Regions from separate parts of the Homo sapiens genome. Here region 2 is linked to region 1. Evidence: promoter capture Hi-C in human tissues and cell types (Jung and others, 2019). All regions are on one chromosome and are shown on one strand. Each heading gives the region's core, a stretch centred on a gene start or on the middle of the fragment in contact. The rest is flanking DNA. Distances are from core to core; before and after follow the strand shown.

Evidence for each region. The method cuts DNA at HindIII sites, captures the fragments that hold promoters and counts their contacts. A contact is called where the count stands out against the background at its distance.
Region 2: a fragment that was not itself captured here is called in contact with the fragment with the promoter of SLC22A16 in region 1 in 3 of the 25 tissues and cell types used here (IMR-90 fibroblasts, dorsolateral prefrontal cortex and spleen).

What each region holds. Positions count from the first base shown.
Region 1 is chr6:110,475,344-110,480,381 of GRCh38, forward strand. It overlaps SLC22A16 (solute carrier family 22 member 16), which reads right to left and starts at 1,270. Exons shown (of 8, transcript NM_033125.4): 1 at 1,179-1,270. The coding sequence starts at 1,231. LOC105377938 (a long non-coding RNA gene) reads left to right here and starts at 174. Exons shown (of 2, transcript XR_942860.3): 1 at 174-319; 2 at 3,966-4,093. The HindIII fragment of the contact is 19,647 bases long and covers 1-5,038 here.
Region 2 is chr6:110,441,869-110,446,776 of GRCh38, forward strand. SLC22A16 (solute carrier family 22 member 16) reads right to left here. Exons shown (of 8, transcript NM_033125.4): 4 at 376-907. Among named protein-coding and RNA genes, the nearest start is that of DDO, 29 kb to the left of the region's middle. The HindIII fragment of the contact is 6,907 bases long and covers 1-4,908 here.

The DNA.
Region 1 (5,038 bases), core at 20-2,519:
TGTGAAAAGAGGGTGATACTACCAACCTTATAAGGCTGTAGTGAAGATTAAAGGAAGTAACATGTACCAACGGCTTATGACCGAGCCAGGCACAAGGCAGCGTTCAATGATGCAAGCAGAGGAAGAAGGGAACAGCTGGGGCTTCCTGCCCGTTTCCTCTGTCCTAACAGCTCCTTTTTGCAGACACTGGGAATCAAAACCAAAACGCATGCAACCTTCCACCTTGAAGAACAGCACCACATCATCTCTTTGCTAAGCCTGATTCCCGTTTTCTGGATAGGAAACTGACACACAAAGTATCTCCAGAATCATATCAGAGGTAAGTAGCAGGCCAGGATCGAGACGCAGCTCCAAATCTCCGGCCATAACGCTGCATGGCCCCTCACCCGGCTACCTCCCCTCTCAAAACACTCTGAGTCAGATAGAGGAGCTCTGTCCATGAGTGAACGAACGAATGAATAATTTAAATTTTTTAAATCAATTTGACAAATGAAAAGAGGGTGTACGGAGGTTAAACGTGGTTCCACCATGCGTTGGCTATGAGTCCTTGACCCCGCCAGCTTGTTTCCCAATCACTAAAATAAGGATTTGAACACCTCCTTTGCAGGGTCCCGGTGAACATCAAATGAAGAACTATGTGTAAGCGCCAGGTACAGTGTACCTGGCACGTATTAGGTTTTAATAAACGGCAACCAACTCTGACTAACGGTTGTCCCTGGGGAACACCTGCCAGGCACAGAGGGAGGCCCTACGGAGGCGCAGGGCAGAACTGGGCAGCAGCCGTCTAGGGAAGTGGCGGCGGATTAGAGAAACGGGCGGCCAGGCACAGGCACCCCCTACGAGTGAGATCTGGCCCCTCGAGCCAGATCTCCAGCCAGATGCCTCCAGCATCTGCTGCCGCGGAGAGCACGCACCAGGTCCCTCCTGCCCGGCAACAGGCGCACTCCGAGCGAGCCCAGCGCCTCTGCTCACCATGCCAGGTCCCGCTGCCAGAGGCCTAGAGGAGAAGCCCAGCTAGGGGCCGGCGTCTGGACGCCCGTGTCCCGACTGCGCGGGGTGAGGAGGAAGTGGAGATGTTTTCGGATCGCGAGCGCCGCGCGAGAACCCCGCCGCAACGGAAAGAAACAGACCCCTCGGCGCCGCCTCCCGCGTGGCGCCGCGGGGCCCCTCCCCCATACCTGCCGAAGTGCCCCACGTGGTCATAAATCCCCTCGAAGTGGCGGGACCCCATGGTGCGGCCGTGCACTGGGCGCCGAGTTAGCCGAGCTCCGGGGACTGCGGGTAGCGCGCCCCGCCCCGAACCTCCCCGCCCGGCCTCCTGCTCTCCCCGCGCGTCCCAGTGCTCGGGACCAGCGCGAGGCTGTATTCTGTTCCTCCCTCCGTCGCTTGGCCCCTCGGTCCCCCCAAGTATCTTCGGCTTTTTTCCTGCCGCCTCGGCCTCCTTCCCGGCGCGCTGTGGTCCCGGCGCCCGCGGTCGCATGGTGCCCTCGCCCCCAGCGCCGCCGCTCTCCCACCCGCCCCGCCGCCCACCCTGGCTCTTGGCACCATGTCTGCGGGGTCGCCACGCTCGAGGGAAGCCCCGACGCCTGGGAAAAGTTGTCGCTGAGAGAGAGCCCAGGGTGGGAATGCAAGGGCTAGGCTCGGTCCGGGGGCCGCAAGAATATATAGCCTTCAGCATGACGCCCCTCAGAAACATGGCTCTCAAACTTTAATGCCTAAGAATCTACTGCAGAACTTGGTTTAAAAGGTACATTTAAGGCCGGGCGCACTTGCTCACGCCTGTAATCCCAGCACTTTGGGAGGCCGAGGCGGGCGGATCACCTGAGGTCGGGAGTTCAAGACTAGCCTGACCAACATGGAGAAACCCCGTCTCCACTAAAAATACAAAATTAGCCGGGCGTGGTGGCACATGCCTGTAATCCCAGCTACTCGGGAGGCTGAGGCAGAAGAATCGCTTGAACCCTGGAGACGGAGGTTGCGGTGAGCCAAGATCGTGCCATTGCACTCCAGCCTGAGGAACAAGAGTGAAACTCCGTCTCAAAAAAATAAAAGTACAATTAGGCCGGCGTGGTGGCTCAGGCCTATAATCCCAGTGCTTTGGGAGGCCGAGGCAGGAGGATTGCTGGAGCCAAGGAGTTTGAGACCAGCCTGGGCAACGTATAGCGACACCTCGTCTATACAAAAATAAAAAATAAATAAATGTACATTTATTTTGAGACTCCATCCCTGATGATTCAGGATGCCTGGGGAACAGGAATCTGATTTTTTTTTTTTTTTTTTTTTTTTTTTTTTTTTTTTTTTTTGAGACGGAGTCTCGCTCTGTCGCCCAGGCTGGAGTGCAGTGGTGCAATCTCGGCTCACTGCAAGCTCCACCTCCCGGGTTCAAACCATTCTCCTGCCTCAGCCTCCCAAGTAGCGGGGAGGTGCCCGCCACCACGTCCGGCTAATATTTTGTATTTTTAGTAGAGACGGGGTTTCACCGTGTTAGCCAGGATGATTTCGATTTCCTGACGTCGTGATCCGACCGCCTTGGCCTCCCGAAATCTGATTTTTAATAAGCAGACCATGGCATTCCAAGCCACACTTTGGAGTGGGCAGGGGTTTGGCCCATAGCCAACCCAGGCAGGGGGTGACCTTCCTTCTGGAAGGTATCAAGTGAATGAACTTTAGGGAAGAAAGGTCAATTGCTGGTCCACAGCGCTGAAGCAGAAAAGCCAGTTTCCGACTATATCCACAGTGAGAGTTGCCTTCTCTAGTCAGCCTGGCAGTCACTGGCCCCACTGTTGGCGTGCTATTCCACTCTATAAGGCCACTAAACCTTGAGTTCCTAGAGAACAGGGATGCATTCTCTTCGTCACTTTGGTAGCCTCAGTTCCATAGCAAATGCCCTCTCTCTGAACTTCTCCACCTCATCCTTAAAATCTGAGCACACCTATCGCTTTCTCAGAGAAGTCCAACAGTTTGAGGGCCAGGGCAGAGCTCTACCAGAGCAGAGCATCAAGAGTGGGTCTGATGGCTCCGAGAAGCGGCAGGATCTTGCAAGGCTGTGTTGAACATTTTACTTTGACCAAAGGACAAGGAGAACTCCCTGTAGACAGTCTTAAAGCAGAAGAGTAACAGGCGCAAACTTGTACTTGAATAATATTTGAAAGAGAGGAGAGTCCATTTCCCAAAGTGCTTCCCTCCCCTACTTGTCACAGAGCCTACAATAACACCATTAAAAATTGACTTATTTTTGTTATGCACAATCCTATCTAGACATTCTCTTCTGAAACATAAATACTCTTGGAAGGACTAATCCCTTAAGTAATAAACAACTTGGAGAGGGTTTTTAAATTAGATAGTTTCCTGCTAACTAAAGAGACTTAAGAAAGCCTAAGTTCTTCAGGTGAGGAATGCTAGAGGGATACAAGGTGGGGGGAAGATGAGAGGGTAGTGAGGAGTAGTTATGTCAAGGGCTGAGCCTAGGAGGAAAGGTGGGGGCCATGGCAGCCAGTCAAGACGCCATATTGCTTCAAAGCACCAAAGGGAGAGTTACCTGGAAAAGATATGGAGAAATTGAACTTTGATATGAACACTATTCTTATTACACCAGATAGAAATGTCACAATATGGATAAAATGGACAAATTACTGAAAAATACAATCTAACAACACTCAAGAAGAAATAGATAACCAAAATAGGCCTACATCTATTAAAGAAATTGAATATGCAATTAAAAACCTTCTGATATAGTTTGGATGTTTGTCCTCTCCAAATCTCGTGTTGAAATGTAGTCCCTAATGTTGGAGGTGGGGCCTGGTGGGAGGGGTTTGGATCATGGATCCTTCATGAATGTCTTGGTGCCATCCTCCCCAGTAATGAGTGAATTCTCAGTTATGAGTTCACACAATATCTGGTTGTTTGAAAGAGTCTGGAACTTCCTCCTCCTTCTCTCTTGTTCCTTCTCTCACCATGTGATTCAGGGACCGCTTCATCTTCTGCCATGACTGGAAGCTTCCTGAGGCCCTCAACAGAAGCAGATGCTGGCACTATGCTTCATGTACAGCCTACAGAACCATGAGCCAAATAAATCTCCTTTCTTTATAAATTATCCAGTCTCAGGTATTCCTTTATAGCAATGCAAATAGACTAACACATGTTTCCACAAAGAAAACCCCAGGGTTGGCCACGTGCAGTGGCTCACACCTGTAGTCCTAACACTTTAGGAGGCTGAGGCAGGAGGATCGCCTGAGTCAAGGAGTTTGAGACCAGCCTGGGCAACATGGTGAAACCTCATCTCTATAAAAAATGCAAAACATTTGGCCAGGCATCATGGTGCACGCCTGTTATCCTAGCTACTTGGGAGGCTGAGGTGGGAGGATTACTTGAGCCTGGAAGGTCGAAGCTGCAGTGAGCCGTGACTGGGCCACTGCACTCCAGCCTGGGTGACACAGTGAGACCCTGCCTCAAAAAAAAGAAAAAAGAAAAAGAAAAGAAAGAAAGCCCCAGAGTCAGACATTTAAGGTAGAAATAATATTGATTCTGCACAAACTGTTCAAGGAAGTTGAAGATGAGTGAATACGTCCCAAATCACTGAATGGTCCAGCATTACTCTGACATCAAAACCAGGTAAAGACCTTACAAGGCAAGAAAACTATACACCAATATACCTATATGAACATAGATGCAATAATTCTCAACAAAACTTTAGCAAATTGGATGTCTCTTTATATTTAAAAGGACAAGTACATCATGAGCACATGAGATTTATCACAAGAATGCAAGAGTGATTTAACATCTGAAAATCAAGCAATATAATTTACCATACTAACAGACCATATGAAAAAACATGATTATCCCAGTCAATGCAAAAAACACATTTGGGAGAAGCCAACACCTTTTCATAATAAAAACACTGAACAAACTAAGAATAGAAGGGAATTACATCCATCTCATAAAGGGCATCTCCAAAAAACAACCCATAGCTAACAGTATACTTCATGTGAAAGACTGTATGTTTTCTCCCTAAGATTGGGAACTAGACAAAGATGTCTGT
Region 2 (4,908 bases), core at 519-3,018, 33 kb before region 1:
TTAATAGTGTAAATAAGACTGCATTGACATGGGTACATTCTCAGGACCCTCAGTTTTTTAAGGATGGAATAAATGGCTGATGTCGTACAAAAGTGTCTTGACCTTGATGGCAATCATGTTGAGAAAGTTTATGTTTTAAATTTTTGTCTTTTAATGCCATTTTTCCATGAACTGGTTGAAGTCCCCTCATATGTACATGTGTTACAACATAACACTAAGAGATATCATAATAATATGGTTGGCAGTATTGTTCCTGGTTTTAAAGGGCCTATTAAAAACATTCTTTTTCTCAAATTCACACAGAAACAGACACACACACACAAATGGTAGAAATCTCACTTCACTGCCAAATTTAAATATACTGTAACTACTTACCCAGGAGGAAGAGGTTTAAGTATTCATTGCCTCCTAAGTTAACAGAATTCAAGGAAAACGAGTAGAATCCCAAACTTCCAGTGAACCAGATTAGCCAAACGGTAAGTGTCCTTTTCGTAATGCTCCAGTTATAAAACAGATATGATAGGTTGTGCTTCTGAACTTCAGTGGGGCTATTACTAACAGGACCTTGTAGGTCCAGTGATAAAAGTTCTGACAGTTTACAGGAGCTTGCCCTGTTCCACTTGGCCATGATGTCAACTATTTTTTGTGCTTCTTCATATCGTCCCTCTGAGAGAAGCCAAAAAGGTGTCTCTGGGAGCACCCAACAGCACAGGATAAAGGGGACAGTCACTGTGGAGAGGATCATCTGGTAAAGCCACCAGGTCCTGACCAAGTATCCTGTCAAAGCCACCAGCAGGGTTCCAACTGCAAAAAAGGAATGCAAATGGACAGACGCCCATGTCCGAGACTTCATGCCAATGAATTCCATCACATAGACAAACCCCACCACAAGATAGCCACTTGCAACCTGAAAAACAAATAATAGGGATTTATATTCAAGGTCACATTTATAACTATTGAGGAGTCTGACCCCATTGCAAATCACATATAGGCAAAAAAGAAAATGACAAAGACTTGCTTTCTGAAACCCCTATCAGATGTATAAAATGACATTCAATCCGATCTATCTTTTTTTCTTATAGGTCCTTTCATCTTCCCTCATCCTCCCCACCCCAAATGGCAAAACTTGAGAGATTATTTATGATATAAATGTTAGACATTGTCTTTTGTGTCATCTAAATATTTCATTATACTGTGGATGTATTTCTCCATTCCTTGTAAATGCATACATCAAGTTATCTGTATCCAGGAGGTCCTTATTGTTAAATCCTAACTGCTAAATGGAGACAAAAAAATTTACGCTAACTAGTGGTAAGAAAAACTGATTTAATTAAAATTCTATTTTGACAGGCAAAGAAGACAAATTAGACTTCATGAAAATTAAAACTGTGCATCAAAGAACACTATCAATGGAGGGAAAAGGCAACCTGCAGAACTGGATAAAATATTTGCAAATCAAATATCTGATAAGGGATTTTATGGAGAACTCCTAAAATCCAACAACAGCAAAAACACAGACAATCCAATTCAAAAATGGGCAAAGGCTTTGAACAGACATTTCAAACAGAAGAAATACAAATTTTTACCAATCATTGAGAAATGCAATTCAATGCTACAAAGAGATACCCCCTCATACACATTAGTGTGGCTAATTAAAAAAAAAAATAACAAGTTTTGGCGGGAATGTAGAGAAACTGGAACCCATGTGTAATATGTGAGAGAAATGTATAATGGCACAGCCTCTAGGAAAAACAGTATGACGATTCCTCAAAAAACAATTACAGCATGATCCAGCAATTCCACCTTTGAGTATATACCCAAAGGAATTGAAAGTGGGGTCTGGAAGAGATGTTTGCACATGCCTGCTCATAGCATTATTCACAACAGCTAAAGCATGGAAGCAACCCCCCAAGGGTCCGTCCATAGATGAATAGATAAGAAAAATGTAGTCTATGCATACAATGAATATTATGCTAAGGGAAATAAGCCAGTCACAAAAAGACAACTATCATATGATTCCGCTTTCATGAGGTACCTAGAGTGGCCAAACTCATAGAGACAGGATGTAGAATGGTGGTTGTCAGGGGCTAGGGAGACAGGGAACAGAGAGTTATTATTCAATGGACAGAGTTTCAGTTTTGCAAGATGAAAACGAGTTCTGAAGATGCACAGTGGTGATAATTGCACCACAGTATGAATGCACTTAATATCACTCAACTGTACACTTAAAAATGGTTAGGATGGTAAATTTTGTGTTATATGTACTTTACCACAAGAAGGAAAACTGGGGAAAAACTTTATTTTGGAAATATGACTATCTTTAATAAAAATTAGATTACAATATGTGATTAGAATATAATATGTGACCATTCTTGAAATAAACAAAGAATGAGTCCATTGATGGGTTTTTTGGGAGGAGGAGGGGAAGAATTTTTTCTACAAAATTTTTTCATATTTGACTTCTACAACACAAATCATACAATTAACTTTTGTAAAATTATTCGAGAGCACCACTCCCCAAAGGCTTCTCTTAATCATTAGATATTTGAATCATACTCTTTCAAAGGCTCATTATGTGATTATCCTTGCAGATGTTAATTTCTTCAAAAGTTAACAGGTCTCTCTGCCAGATCCCCACTGGCCAAAGGTTGTGGGCAGGATTCAGGCAGTGTTCCCCTGTTCCCTCACTGCTTTTAAAGACTTTTTGTAAACATGTGTCCCTTGTAATAACTGCAATTTCTCCTTGCATTGGACAGTCACAAAGAGGCCGGCCTACAAGGATATTCCTGCTGTCAGAAAGGGTTGACACTAGCAGGAGGCAGGGAGGTGCTTGATGAGGACTACTGTATTCATAATCAGTTTAATATTTTTGTGACAACAGCTTTTATTTCCCTGTGCAACTTTGTAATGGCAAGACTCAGATCATCGGGACCCTACATCTAACAATCCAGAAGTCGCTTTTGGTAAGCGCTGCTGTTACATTAACAAAGATTGTGATAACTTTCAAATACTATAAATTTCCCAGTTAAATTAAGCTGTAATATTTGTCCCTGTCAGGTTTTTCAATGCTAATTATTTCTCATGAGTCAGCTACAACTTCCTCTGTTATTGGATTCAGAAAATCCATATACAACTAACTCCAAAACACTCTGTGAATCCACTCACACCCATCCCTTCCACTGATAATAATACTCACATCTTCTCGGAATCCACCCCCTCATAGCAGCCAGAATTCCTGGAATCCCTTTTGTGGATTGCCATTGCCTTTAGGAGATAGAGCAAAATCCTGACAATCCTACAAAGCCCCACCTAACCGCCTTGATCCCTTCAGCCTCATCAATGCGTCTCTCCTCCTCTCTATTCTCCAGACATTCCGGCTTTTCTTTCTCATCTCAGGGCCCTTTCATCCACTTCTATCTTTGCTGGAATATTCTTCTCTCACCCATCCCTCACAGTGAGAAAACCCTTGACCCTCCAGACCCTGGTGAACGCTCCAGACCCACTGATGTTATGCCCTCACTGTCAACATTTTATTTATTTTTGAAGATGGCTGATCAACGTCTTGCCTTTCCTACTAGACTTACTGAGACAGCTGGGTCTGGTTTACTTAGCATTACACTCTGTAGACAGATCAATAAATGTGTTGAGTAAATGAATCTGCCTGCATCTCCCATCCACAGAATTCCCCCACAAATCCATTCCCCATGAACATCAACGGAAACAGTCACAGAAAATTAAGGCCACATTTCACGGATGTATTCTATGGGTGTGGCCTTGTTTCCTTGGGTATAGAAGCCAACGCGTGGTATTTTGCAAGACTGAAACAGATATTTTCAGAAATATCCTCTTAAGTCTTCCAAAAGATGATGTTTATACTTTCTTAGTACCTGTGCCTTTGTGGAGCCTTCAGTCCCACCAGAAGGTTTCTCTCGTGAAATCTCACTCTACAGTCACAGAGTTATGTCCTCAGTGGAAACAGAACTACTGGTTGCTATCTTGTATTTAAAACTCTTTACATTCCTAAATATATATATTTACTTTTTAATGAGGTACAACACCTTCCAGTCTCCTAGATTTATTTTTATGCATCTTCCTTATCCTTGGCCAACTGTATGGTTTGCTAGAAACCCTTTCTATCCATCAAAAAAGACTCCAAAACTGACACCCCATCTTGTTCTCTGAGGGGGTGCAGAGAGATTGAAGCCCTTTGCTTCTCTCCAGACCCTCAGACCATCCAACCTGCTGCTCTGCATTTAGCAAGATCACAAGCTCCTCCTCCAGATGGAAACTTCCCTCTATTATTCTTGATGTTGCTTGATAGTTGGAAATCTATCTGGAAGCCTCACTGAGCATGGAAACAGCCTCCTTGCTCGCTAGTCCATTTCTAGTAAGTTACCATTGTAATCAGGTGCTGTACTGCGGTTGTTTATACTTAATCTCACTGAATCCTGAGAATAATAATAATAAACACAGATTCTTTTCTACAGTTTACAGACTGCAACCAAAGGTTCAAAGAGGATACTGATCATACAACTAACAAGCCAATATATGACAATGCTGGTATTCAAACTCGTGCCCTTTCCACTAAACTGCCGTTCCTGGTAACATAAGGACCTAATGCCCTCCTGTTTTCATTCTTCCTGTACATTATACAAGTGACTTTAACCACACACCTCAACTGTCTGTTTGCTCATGTGAACAGGCCCTGACTAGACCAATATGATTACTCAGAAAGAAAATAATGCCTCAGTAATTGTGACATGTGGACCACATGCCCGACACAGAGGCAAACACACTTCTGCCTAGCCAGCAACAATTTTTCACTTTAATGAGTTCCATTCTAAACATAAGGCATTGGTATTCTGTAGGCAGACTTCTGCAGTGGAGTGGACAAAGATGAGTCCTTGA